Regions from separate parts of the Homo sapiens genome. Here all the other regions are linked to region 3. Evidence: promoter capture Hi-C in human tissues and cell types (Jung and others, 2019). All regions are on one chromosome and are shown on one strand. The core of a region is centred on a gene start or on the middle of the fragment in contact, and the rest is flanking DNA. Distances in the headings are between cores, read along the strand shown.

Region 1 (4,089 bases), core at 587-3,086, 220 kb before region 3:
TATGAAGAAGCACTGTTTTTTCTAAGTGAAGTCAAAGTGAGAACTCTGAACTTTTTTCAACTTTTTCTATCTCTATGAGTGTAAAAAAGAAGAATGAAACTGGGCAAAAATTGCTGAATATGTATATTGCAGCAGTTTACAGGCATACCTCATTTTATTGTACTTCCCTTTATTCCACTTCAAAGATACTGAATTTTTTATGAATTGAAGATTTCTGGCAACTCTGTGTAGAGCAAGCCTGTCTGCACCATTTTTCCAACAGCATATGCTCACTTTGTAGTCTCTGTGTCCCATTTTGGTAATTCTCATAATACTTTAAACTTTTTCATTAATATTTATTATGGTAACCTATGATGGGTGAGCTTGGATGTTGCTACTGTAATTGTTTGGGTGCTCCATGAACCTCACCTCTATAAGACAGCAAAATTAATCAATAAATGTTATGTGTGTTCTGACTGTTCCACCGACTGGCTGCTTCCCATCTTTCTCTCTCTCTCTTTGGGCCTCCCTATTCCATGAGTCACAGGAATATTAAAATAAGGCCAATTAATATGCCTATGATGGCCTCTAAGTGGTCAAGTGCAAGGAAGAATTGCACATCTTTCATTTTAAATCAAAAACTAGATTAAGCTTGCTGAGGAAGTCATGACTCAAGCTGAGATAGGCTGAAAGCTAGGACTCTTGCACCAATCAGTTAGCCAAGTTGTGAATGCAAAGTTCTTAAAGGAAATTAAAAGTACTAGTCCAGTGAATATAAGAACGATGAGAAAGTGAAACAGCCTTATTGCTGATATAGAAAGCTCTAATTGTCTGGATAGATCAAACTGGCCACAATATTCCCTTAAATCAAAGCGTAATTCAAAGTGAGGCCTTAACTCTTTAATTTTATGAAGACTGAGAGAGGTGTGGAAGCTGCGAGAGAAAAATGTGAAGCTAGCAGAAGTTGGTCCATAAGGTTTAGGGAAAGAACTTGTACCATAACATTAAAGTGCAAGGTGAGGCAGCTAGTGCTAATATAGAAGTTGCAGAATAGTGTCCAGAAGATCTACTTAAGATAACTGATGAAGGTGGCTACACTAAACAACAAATTTTTCAATGTAGATAAAACAGCATTGTATTGGAAGAAGATACCATCTAGGACCTTGATAGCTAGAGATAATATTTCAAAGCTTCAAGGGACAGGTTGACTCTCTTGTTGTCCCTAATGCACCTGGTGACTTTCAATTAAAGCTAATGCTGACTTACCATTCCAAAAATTCTAGGACCCTTAAGAATTATAATAAATCTACTCTTCCTGTAATCTATAAATGGAACAACAAAACCAGGATGACAGCTATCTGTTTATAGCATGGTTTACTGAGTGTTACAAGCCTGCTGTTGGGACCTACTTCTCAGAAAAAAATATTATTTGAAAACGTTAATGCTCATTGAAGATTCACCATATCACTGAAGACCTCTGATGGAGATGTACAAAGATACATCCTGCTAACATAACATCCATTCTGCAGCCCATGGATCAAGGAGTAATTTCAAGTCTTATTATTTAAGAACTACATTTTGTAAGGCTATAGCTGACATGGATAGTGATTCCTCTGATAAATCTGGGCAAGGTAAGTTGAAAACCTTTTCAAAAGGATTCACTATTTTTGATCATTAAGAATATCTATAATTCATGAGAAGAGGTCAAAATATCCATATTAACAGAGATTTGGAAGAAGTTTACTCTAGCTCTTGTGGATGACTTTGAGAGGTTCAAGACTTTATTGAAGTAAGTAACTGTAGATGTGGTAGAAATAGCAAGAGAACTATTAATAGAGCTAGAAGTGGATGGAGCTTGAAGTTGTGACTGAATTACTGCAATCTCATGATACAACTTTAATGGAGGAGAACTTACTTCTTATGGATAGGCAAAGACAGTGTTTTTTTGAGATGTAGTCTACTCTTGGTGAAGATGCTGGGAACATTGTTGAAATGGCAACAAAGAATGGAGAATATTATATAAATTTAGCTCATAAAGCAGCAGCAGGATTTGAAAGAATTGAGTCTTAATTTGAAAGAAGCTTTACTGTGGGTGAAATGCTATCAAAGAGCATTGCATCCTACAGAGATATCTTTTGTGAAAGGAAGAGTCAATTGATACAGCAAACTTCACTGTTGCCTTAGTTTATGAAATTGCCACAGCCAACCCAATATACACCACTCACCACCCTTATCAGTCAGCAGCCTCAATTTAAAGGCAAGACCCTCCACCAGCAAAAAGACTAGGACTGAGTGAAGGTTCAGAAGATCACTAGCATATTTTAGCAATAAAGTATTTTTAATTAAGGTATGTACATTGTTTTTAGATAATGCTATTGCACACTTAATAGACAATAGTAGAGTGTAAACATAACTTTTTTATTTATGGGGAAACAAAAAAAATTGTGTGAATTATTTTATTGTGTTGGACTAGAAATGAAGCCACACTATCTCTGAGGTGTGCAGGTAGCACTTTTAATTTTCTAGGACATATAACTAAAGGAAAAAAACATTTTATGGATTTTTGGCCAGATTTGGGACAGACTTCCTCATCCTGGGTAAAATTTCTGCAGCACAGTAGCAATAATTTGAGTATGTCAGCAGTACTAGTAGCCTAAATGCTCAAAAGTTTGCCAAAAAGGAGAATAATTAATAAATTGAAAAAGTAACAGCCTAAGCAAGCCCAGAGTTCTCCAATTTGATACATACATATACCCCCAAAAAATTACAATATTAGGTATTAGCTACCTTTTATTTGGCACTTACCCTGTTATATCCACAACACTAAACATTGCACACATGTTCCTTAATCCTTATAAAAATCGCACAATGTTATTTTTCCTGCTTTACACATAAGATAACTGAACATGAAATAAACCAAATATCATACAAGACCAAATATCATACAAGTGGCAATGTAGGAATTCTAATAAAAATTCCTTCTAACAGGCTTATTGGATTTTGATAGTTATGTTTGTAATCCCCACAAGTTAACTACCAATTGGTAGTGATTGGGTAAGCTCCCCTAGGGTTCTTTCAGAAATGACATAGAGTAGAGCACAATTTTACTGATAAATATAACAAATTCAGGAAGATGGCCTCTTCAATAAAGAAAAAATAAACATTTTTTTTGAAAAAAATTAGCAAATGTAATAGCTTTTCTTCCTTCAATTACCTAAAAATATGTTTGCATATATTTTGACGTGTCTCAAAACATTGTATTACAGTAATCATGTGTGTTTTCTTTGTGACTCTTTATTCCTTATTTCCCTTCCCTTAGTTGCTTAGGTAAGCCAAGACTGTTGAAAGGCTGGAAGAATAAATTTGATGGCCTTGGTTTCCTAGTATTCTCCATTTTTTAAATTACAAAATATAAACTTGTGTGAAGCCAAGAGAAACTTTCATTTGAATTCCCCAGTAATTATTTCAACTGAAAATTTTATCATAATAGCTTTACTAGATTTAACACAAATTTATGTGTGATTTACTTTGTAAAAGCTGGAAAATATTGGCCACTATGCTTAAAATGGTTTTTTAAAATGTAGGTAAGATTGATTGAGGGTGTACAACTGATCATTGACAAAAACAGCTAATAAAGGAAGGATTATCAGAAAAAGTCTAGAACATAAGCTACACAAGAGTATGTTCTTATTACAGCAGATACCACCAGTTTGCAAAGCATTTCACACATAAAAACCAGTTCAGTCAAGCTCAGACATCACCACTGCCTCAGAAGGGAAGGGATAGCCTTTTTGATATTGATTCAATTGTGCCCACTTACTGCAATCAGTGGTTAGTGAAATTCCAAATACTCAAATCTAGTCCTTTAGAACCAGTGCTATTAAGTCATAATCTAAATTATAACTTCTGTGGTGATTGCTTCACACTTTGATTACAGGTTGCACTATGAGAAGACAGTGATACAGGTGTTAAATGATTATTCTAATGGACTCTCCATGAAGCGTTTGGCATAATGGGGCAGATGTGGTCCAGAATATCTTAGAATTTCTTCTGTATTTTCAAATAATGCCAGGAAATGCATTTTTAAAGTTTTTTTAATTCCTTTGTGGG
Region 2 (4,118 bases), core at 1,193-3,692, 230 kb before region 3:
TTAGCTGGATTCTTTGTAGTTTCTATTATGTGGTTGCTTTATAGCAGGGGTCCCCAACCCCCAGGCCATGGACTAATACTGGTCTGTGGCCTGTTAGGAACTGAGCTGCACAACAGTAGATGAGCAGCAGGTGAGCTTCATCTGTATTTACAGCCACTCTCCATTGCTTGCATAACTGCCTGAGCTCCAACTCCTGTGAGATCAGCAGCGGCATCAGATTCTCATTGGCGCACAAACCCTATTGTGAAATGTACATGTGAGGGATCTAGGTTGTGTGCTCCTAATGAAAATCTAATGCCTGATGATCTGTCACTGTCTCCCATTGTCCCCAGACGGGACCATCTACTTGCAGGAAAACATGCTCAGGGCTCCCATTGATTGTGCATTATAATGAGTTCTATAATTATTTCTGTATATTATAGTGTAATAATAATAGAAGTAAAGTTCACAATAAATGTAATATACTTGAATCATCCCAAAACCATCCACCCACCTCAGTCCATGAAAAAACTGTCTTCCACAAAACTAGTCCCTGATGCCAAAAAGGTTGGGTACCACTGCTTTATAGGATATGTGAACTATGTATTTAAGTGTGTTTCATGGTAGCTGGTATTGGTCTTTCATTTCCATGTTTAGAACTTCCTTAAGCATCTCTTATAATACAGGTCTAGTGGTAACAAATTCCCTTAGCACTTCCTTCTCTGGAAAATATTTTATTTCTCATTTGCTTATGGAGCTCAGTTGGTGGGACATGAAATTCTTGTATAGAATTTCTTTTTTTTTTAATTAAGAATCCTCAAAATAGTACCTCAATCTTTCCTGGCTTGCAAGATTTCTGCTAGAAGTTCACTGTTAGACTGATTGAGATCTCTTTGACCATGATCAGACTTTTCTCTCTAGCTGCCTTTAAGATTTTTTGTTCAGTGTTGACCTTAGACAGTTGGGTGACGATATGTCTTGGTGATGCTCATTTTGAATAGCAACTCACAGATGTTCTCTGGATTTCTTGTTTCTGGATGTCTACCTCTTTAGCAAGATCGGGAAAATTTTATTCATTATTTCCTCAAATATGTTTTCCAGATTGTTTACATTTTCTCCTTTTCTAACAGGAATGCCTGTTAGAAATTCTAGGTTTGGTCACTTTACATAAGGCCATATATCTTGAAGATTTATTCATTTTTTTAAATTCTTTTTTTCTTTATTTTTATCTGACTGAGTTAGTTCAAGAGACTGGTCTTCAAGCTCTGAAATTTTTTCTTCTGCTTGGTCAGTTATATTGATAAAGCTTTCAATTGTATTTTTAAATTCCTAGGCTGGGCACAGTGGTTAACATCTGTAATCCCAGTATTTGGGAGGCCAAGGCAGGCAGACAGATTGGGCTCACAAGTTGGAGACCAACCTGGGAAACATGACAAAACCCCATCTCCACAAAAAATACGAAAAAAATTAGCTGGGCATGGTGACACACACCTGTAGTCCCAGCTACTTGGGAGGCTGAGGTGGAAGGTTGGCTTGAATGCAGAAGGCAAAGGTTGCAGTGAGCCAAATCATGCCACGAAATTCCAGCCTGAGTGACAGAGCCAGACCCTGTCTCAAAAAGAGAAAGAAATTCCTTAAGTGAGCTTTCAAATTCCAGAAGCTCCAATTGTTTTCTTTTTGAGATGTTTATGTCTTCTTTATTTCCTGGATTGCTTTGGAAGTTTCTTTGTTTTGATTTTCAACCTTGTCTTGAATCTCATTGTGCTTACCTGCAGTCCATGCTTTGAATTCTTTATCTGTAATTTCTGAGTTTCCATTTTGTTTAAACACCATTGCTGGAGAACTAGTGAAATTTTGTGGTGACAATACATTCAGATTTCTCATGGTGTCAGAATTCTTATGCTGGTTCTGTCTTATCTTGAGATACTTGCACTTCTAATTTTATAATTATTTTTATGCAGTTAGGAGTTTTTAATTTTCTTTCATTTTCTATATTATTATTTTTTCTTTTCCTTGCTCTTCCTCCTACCCACCAGATGTTGTGGCTGTAGAGAATGCTGGGTAGGGTATTTTTGTTTTGCCTCTATTGAAGCAGGAAATATAAAAAGAAAAACAAGCAAAGGGAAAACAGCCTTGACCAGGCTGACTCACTCCAAAGTCCTGCTAGAGCTATGATAACATTATCTGCAAGGCCAGGCAGGGGACCCAAAGGAATAGACTCCAGGTACAAGGATGGGAAAAGCAAGTTCTCCTTATCAGTTTCCCCCTTTGGAAATCTCTCCCCATACTATCATTCTTTGCTCTGCTCTCATAACTACTTTTGTAACTGTTTCTGCAAGTTTGTAAAAGTTTTTATAAGTTCCTGTTTTTCTTTCTGTAGCATGGCAAAGTCACAAGACATGTTTAAGTGAGATAAGCTCATGTTGCAAAGCCTGTTGCAAAACCTGTCACAGTATGATTAACTGCCTTTGTTCTGCTTCTGTAAGCTCGCTTACCTGCCCTGCGGGTTTCGAGTCACTAGATGGCCAACCCTCTTTAGCTGTATGTACAAAAGTCAACCCCTGTCTTTGTTCAATGCCCAGCCTTTGGATATTAATCTGCTGAACCAGTGGCCACCTAAATAAAATCCTCCTGTTCCCCAACGCTTGTCTCTCCAGTCTCCTGATTTCTGCAACACTATAGCCCTATGCATGTCTTTTGGCAGGTTTATATTGGGCTGAGCAGTTAGACTTACAAGCCAGTAGCTAGTGCTTACAGATAAGAGCCAGCTGCACTGCAATGGTATATTCTAGATCCTTGTTTACAAGGAGAAGCTTTTGGTTGCTGCAGACAAGGGGCTGATCTGTGGAGTGCACAGTGGTCTGAGCTCCTTGCTCAGCCCTGGGTGAGGGAGTGGGGGCAAGGCTATAATGAGTGGGGCCAGACTGGGCAGATCCTCTCCACCTAGAGTTCATCAGGTGGCAAACGAGCACCAGCACTAAGGGAGAATCCAGTGGGTGGCCACCAGGTGCCCAAAGGTGTGCCTAGGCATGGAGCTTGAAAACCCCCATTGGCCCTAAATTATCTGCATGGGAATATGGGGTTGGCCTGAACTCCTAATCCAGAAGAGTAGTTGCTCAAGAGACCTGGAGATCTACCTAGGGATCAGAGAGGGGCCTCTGCCCCAAGATCTCTGCACAGGAGGGTAGGGTGACTCAGGCTGCTGAACCCAGCAAGCAGGTTCTCTGAATGCCTGGAAATCTGCCTGGGTGTGTAGCAGAGAGCCCCCCCACCACCCGCCCCACAGCAGAATCTCTACATAGGAAGGGTGGGGTGACTTGGGCTTCTGTTCCAGGCAAACGCCTGGGATCTTCCTGGGTGCAAAGCAGAGAGGACCTCCCTGTACCAGGATCTCTGCACAGGAAGGATGGAGCAGGTCAGGCTGCTGATCCAGTTGAGTAGGTGCTCTGAATGCCTGGAGATATGCCTGAGTATAGAGCAGAGAGAACCCCACTGTACTATGATCTATGCCCAGGAAGGTTAGAGCAGCTCTGGATGGTGATCTAGTCAAGCAAGTGCTCCAAATGTTTGGATGTCTGCCTGGGGATAGAGCAGAAAGGGTTCTGATGCACCACAATCTCAGAGGAGCAGGCTGGGACACGCAACAATGGCACACACCACACCAGCTGGTTCTGGGTCAGCAAGCTGGCCCCTTGCTCCTAGTCTTGGCACCCAGGAGAAACTGTAGCTGTAGCAGCTCTCCTCCCTCCCCACCTACTGCTGAGGCACTTTCCACAATTCTGGCTGTAGAGGCCCCTACCCCACTCCAGAGCAGGTGGTTCAATCTCTGGCTGGTGACTAAAATGCCTGAGTAGCCACATTGTTGGATCACCAAGAATGACTGACATTGCATGCACTCAAATTTAACAGGATGTCCTGCTCAGTCCCAGGTCAGGGAAAAACTCTTCAGCTTTTCCCCTTGTTTTTCCCTCACAGTATCTACAAGCCTCTCTTCAAGTTAGCTCCATGGTTTCGGAGAAACAAAGTGCTCTCCCCTGAGTTGCTTGGGTCCCCAGTGAAAAGGTGAGCACAGAGGGAGGCTCCCTGCCTCTCTCATGTACTGGGCTTCCACTCACTTTTATCAGCCAGACATTGTCATG
Region 3 (4,416 bases), core at 1,828-4,327:
CTTGCCCTTGCCCCCACCCAGCTGCGGGTGGCTGTACTCGGCGATGCGGCAGTTGTAAGTGCGGATCTCCTTGTTCTCGCGCTTGCACTTGACGGCGATGGTGATCATGGCCGCTAGGAGGATGATGGAGATAGTGCTCAGAGTCACGATGAGCGGCAGCGACATGTCCCAGTGGTGCTGCTCGCCATTCACCCGTGGTACCCCCTCGGGAAGGGATCCGCTCACCGAGCGGATGATGAGCTTGGCCACTGCGGACAGGGTAGGCTTGCCGTGGTCGGTCACCTTCACCACCAGCTCCACCACGGGCGTCACGTCCTCCCAGAAAGGGTGCAGCGTGCGGATCTCGCCGCTGGACGGGTCGATCTCAAACAGGTGGTCGTCGTTGCCGTCCACGATCTCGTAGGTGAGACGCCCGCTCTCGCCGAAGTCGCTGTCTAGGGCGCGCACAGTGCTCACCAGATAGCCCAGGCCAGCGTTGCGCGGCACCTGCAGCTCCGCGGTGTCGTTCTGCAGCGTGGGGAGCACGATCACTGGCGCGTTGTCATTCACGTCTAGCACTGTCACCCTCACCGTGGCGTTGCTCTCCAAGTGCGCGGGCGCCCCCGAGTCCTTAGCAAGCACCTTGAACTCAAAAGCCTTGGTCTGCTCGAAGTTAAAGGAGCGCAGGGCGTAGATGGCCCCGTTCGTGGGATTCACAGACACATAGGTGTAGATAGACACGTCGCCGATGTGCGAGGGCAGGATAGAGTAGGATACGGTGCCGTTCTGGCCCAGGTCGGGATCCTGGGCGAGCACAGAGCCCAGGTACTCTCCCGGGATGTTGTTCTCGTGCACCTGAAGCACGTAGAGCCCTTTGGTGAACCGAGGCGGGTTGTCGTTCTCGTCTAGAATCTTGATCGCGAACGACTTGGTGGAGTTGAGGGGAGGAGAGCCCCCGTCCCGCGCCACGATGGTCACGTTGTACTCGTCTTGTGTCTCGCGGTCCAGCGGGCGGTCAGTCACCACCGTGTAGAAGTTGTCGTAGTTCTCCTCAAGCTTGAAGGGGACGGAACCCCCGGGCCCGCCCAGGCCCCCGCCGCCGCCCGTCCCTCCTCCGCCTAGGACCCGACACTGCAGCTGTCCGTTCTTGCCAGAGTCCCGGTCAGTGACCCGCACCAGGGCGATGACGGTGCCGGGAGGGGCGGCCTCGCTCAGCGCCCCCTGGCGCACGGAGACGAAACCGATGGACGGCGCATTGTCGTTGCGGTCGATGAGCTTGACCGTGACTTTGCAGTGGGCTGGGATAGGGTTAGGCCCCAGGTCTCGGGCCTGCACGTCAATCTCCAGCATCCCGTTTTCCTCATAGTCCAGATTGCCCTTCACACGGATTAGGCCGGTCTTGGGGTCGATGGAGAAGAGCTCCCGCACGCGGTCAGGCACGTAGCTGCTGAAAGAGTAGAGCACTTCACCATTGGGACCTTCATCGGCGTCGGTGGCGTTCAGATCGATGACCACTGTACCCAGCGGAGCGTTCTCGGGCAGTTCCACCAAGTAGGATGGCGCCTCGAAGACCGGGCTGTTGTCGTTGGAGTCAATCACCTTCACGTTGATCTGTACGGTGGCGGAACGTGGAGGCTCGCCACCGTCCAGGGCAGTCAGCACGAGCGTATGGTGATTCTGTTGCTCGCGGTCCAGAGCCTTCTGGATGACCAGTTCTGGGAACTTGGTGCCGTCGCCGCGGGACTTAACGTCCAGTCCAAAGAGGCCGTGATCGTCGCGCGTGAGCAGGTAGGTGCGGAGCCCATTCTCGCCGGCGTCGGGGTCATGTGCGCTGGTGAGGGGGAAGCGGGTGCCCGGAGCAGCGTTCTCCGAGATGTCCATTTCGATCTGGTCCGAGGAGAAGGAGGGCGCGTTGTCGTTGATGTCCTGGATCTCTACCTTGATCATGCAGATCTCCTTGTCGTTGGCGAACACCTCGAGGGACAGCTGGCACTTGGCATTGTGGCGGCACAGGGACTCGCGGTCGATGCGCTGCTTGGTGTAGAGGAGCCCGCTGTCTGCGTCCACGTCCAGCAGGTGCGGTGCGGAGTTCTCCAGCACCCGGTAGCTACCCGACTTGCTGCGCCCTCCGCCGCCGCGCTCTGCAGGCGGAAGCCCAGGCTGCAGTCGAGCATCCCTGCCGATGTTCCCGATCACCGTGCCGGCCCCTTGCTCCTCCGGCACGGAGTAGTTGAGGTTCTTGAGAGTGAGGGCAGGGGCCCATAGAAGAAAGCAGCAACAGATGGAAAGGTACATCCCAGACCTGTAAGGTGGGGGCAGGAGCAATCGGACTGGAGGAGCCAGAGAGGGAGTGCGCGCCAGCCTGGGGCCCTGGCGCAGCGTGCGCGCGCGACGCGAGCCACAAGTCTATGGGTCCTTTTTTCCCTCTGCACCCGAGCTGCGGCACCCGGTGGTCTCTCCTTATTCTGCTCAAGTTCCCTGAACCTGTTGATCTACAGCATCCGCACTGGGTGAGAAGCTGCGGTGCAGCAGAGCTGCAGGGGCTTGGAGCAAGGCGGTGGCTTCCTGCGGCTGGGGGTGAGCCAGGGGTTTCGTCTCTCCCGCCCGGACTTCGGGAGGCTCAAACTTGAGCGATGAGGCAGGCGATAAGAAGGAAATCTCGTCTGGGAGAGATGATAATGAGCTAAAGAATCAGTAGGTTTTCCTCGCTCCCGCTAGGGTGCTGCAAATCTACTCCCGCCCGGAGACTCCGGAATACTCTTCACATCGAGTGGGGGAGGGAGCAGGGAGGTGTGTCTCTAGGCAGATCCGAAAGTGAAATTCTTACTTGCTGCTCGCCTCCCGTGATGAAATTGATGGGGATGAAGAGCAACGAAGACAGAGTCACAGATATATTTTGAAGCTTCCCCAGCGCACCGTGAAATGTCTGCTTGCTGCGCGGGCCGGTCTGTTTTCAGGCAGTGTTTTGCTGCATTTAGAGATCTAATCTTGCATTGCTGGCTGAGGCAGCGGCGGCGGCGGACTGCATCTACCAGCCAAGCGTATTTTTTTTTTCCTCTCTCTCCTTTCCGAGCAGCCAAAGGGAGGGGAGGAAATGCAGCGTAAAGAACTAGTGTCCCGATTTGTAGTTTCCTCTCCCCACCAGGCTCCTCCCTCTCTTCCTCGGAAAAGGCTCTCCCCCGAAATCAAGAAAGCCACAGCCTGATCAGCATTTGCTGTGTGAGTCTATTGGGAGGGGGGAAGTAGAGAGATAAATCTTCGCCTCTGTTCGTAGAACACACTCTCTGATTTCTCTACGCCAAGCCAGTAGCCTCCGCTACCATCCCATCCTCTCCCCGCGAGCAAGGACTTCTCTCCAAGCAGTTTAATTCCAGTTTGCTTTTCTTCCCAGGCGAAGGGAAATCAACAGGCAACTCATGGTTGGACGTGCACATTTAAAGGAGGAGGGGGGAGGCCGAATAAAAAGGAAGGGGGAGCCTCCCTCCCAGTCCTTGCACACACACTCTCCCTGTCTCTCGCTAGAAGGGAAACAGTCTCTGCATTCACAGGGCTGGGCTGTCAAGTGCCTCTTTTCTTTCTATTCAGCATCTCCTTCCAATAGCCCTGCCTCCCAGTCCTCTTCATCTAGAAAAGAAAACCTTGGCGAGGAATAAAAGTGATGAATATTTGAAGCAAATAAAGTACGTGTTTTTTTTTTTCCTTCAATTTTCTCTTATAGTAGGAGGAGTGGGCTGGATGAAAGCAACACATCAAGGTTTGGCGTGATGCATTCTGCAGTCTCTCTTTCAGTTTTTCTGGGCGACTCAGGGAGGGCAGGGGGTGCAGAGCTGCGGCCGCGGCGGTCCAGCCAGGGGCTCCTACCCCGGGGAGCTCCCTCCGAGGGGATGTTAGACACAGGTCTGTCTACACATTATTTCGGGTTCTGGAGGCGCCTCGACATACGGGAATGACACATCCAGAAATGCAGGTGTTCCGATCTGCCGGATGAGTCAGAAGCAGCGGAACGAATCGTATTCACTCTCGCCTCATGGTCCTCCCTTCACAGACATTAGTTGCGGCTTCTTCCTAACGCTTTCTCTGACTCAGTCTATAGAAAGAAAAACCAGATTCATGTTTTTGGGGAAAAAGAAAATGCAAGAGAAAAGGATGGAGGGAAGAAGGTGAAGCTGAATCTAGCAGCACTTTTACTCTACCTCTTTCTGCCGGAGTCCGAGGTTCTGGAAAACAAGGCGTCTGCTTTGCTAGGTGTATTGGTTTATTTATTTTGTTTATTTTTTTTAAACCTTTCCTCTTGGTTAGGCGAGAGGTACCCCGAAATTTTTCAGAGTCTTGGAAAAGGAAAAACAAAATCAGGTTTCCAGTAATTGTTCCCAGCTTAGCCTCGCATCATAGTTCAAGATTTTCCTCTCAATTTTTTCTATTCACAAAGTCCAACAT

The links. The method cuts DNA at HindIII sites, captures the fragments that hold promoters and counts their contacts. A contact is called where the count stands out against the background at its distance.
Region 1: a fragment that was not itself captured here is called in contact with the fragment with the promoter of PCDH17 in region 3 in 1 of the 25 tissues and cell types used here (dorsolateral prefrontal cortex).
Region 2: a contact is called between a fragment that was not itself captured here and the fragment with the promoter of PCDH17 in region 3, in 1 of the 25 tissues and cell types used here (dorsolateral prefrontal cortex).

The regions. Positions count from the first base shown.
Region 1 is chr13:57,847,509-57,851,597 of GRCh38, reverse strand. No RefSeq gene overlaps it. Among named protein-coding and RNA genes, the nearest start is that of PCDH17, 220 kb to the right of the region's middle. The HindIII fragment of the contact is 3,298 bases long and covers 188-3,485 here.
Region 2 is chr13:57,864,173-57,868,290 of GRCh38, reverse strand. No RefSeq gene overlaps it. Among named protein-coding and RNA genes, the nearest start is that of PCDH17, 230 kb to the right of the region's middle. The HindIII fragment of the contact is 4,790 bases long and covers 48-4,118 here.
Region 3 is chr13:57,630,405-57,634,820 of GRCh38, reverse strand. It overlaps PCDH17 (protocadherin 17), which reads right to left and starts at 3,077. Exons shown (of 4, transcript NM_001040429.3): 1 at 1-3,077. The coding sequence starts at 2,274. RefSeq lists an enhancer at 1,891-2,570. The HindIII fragment of the contact is 5,195 bases long and covers 1,959-4,416 here.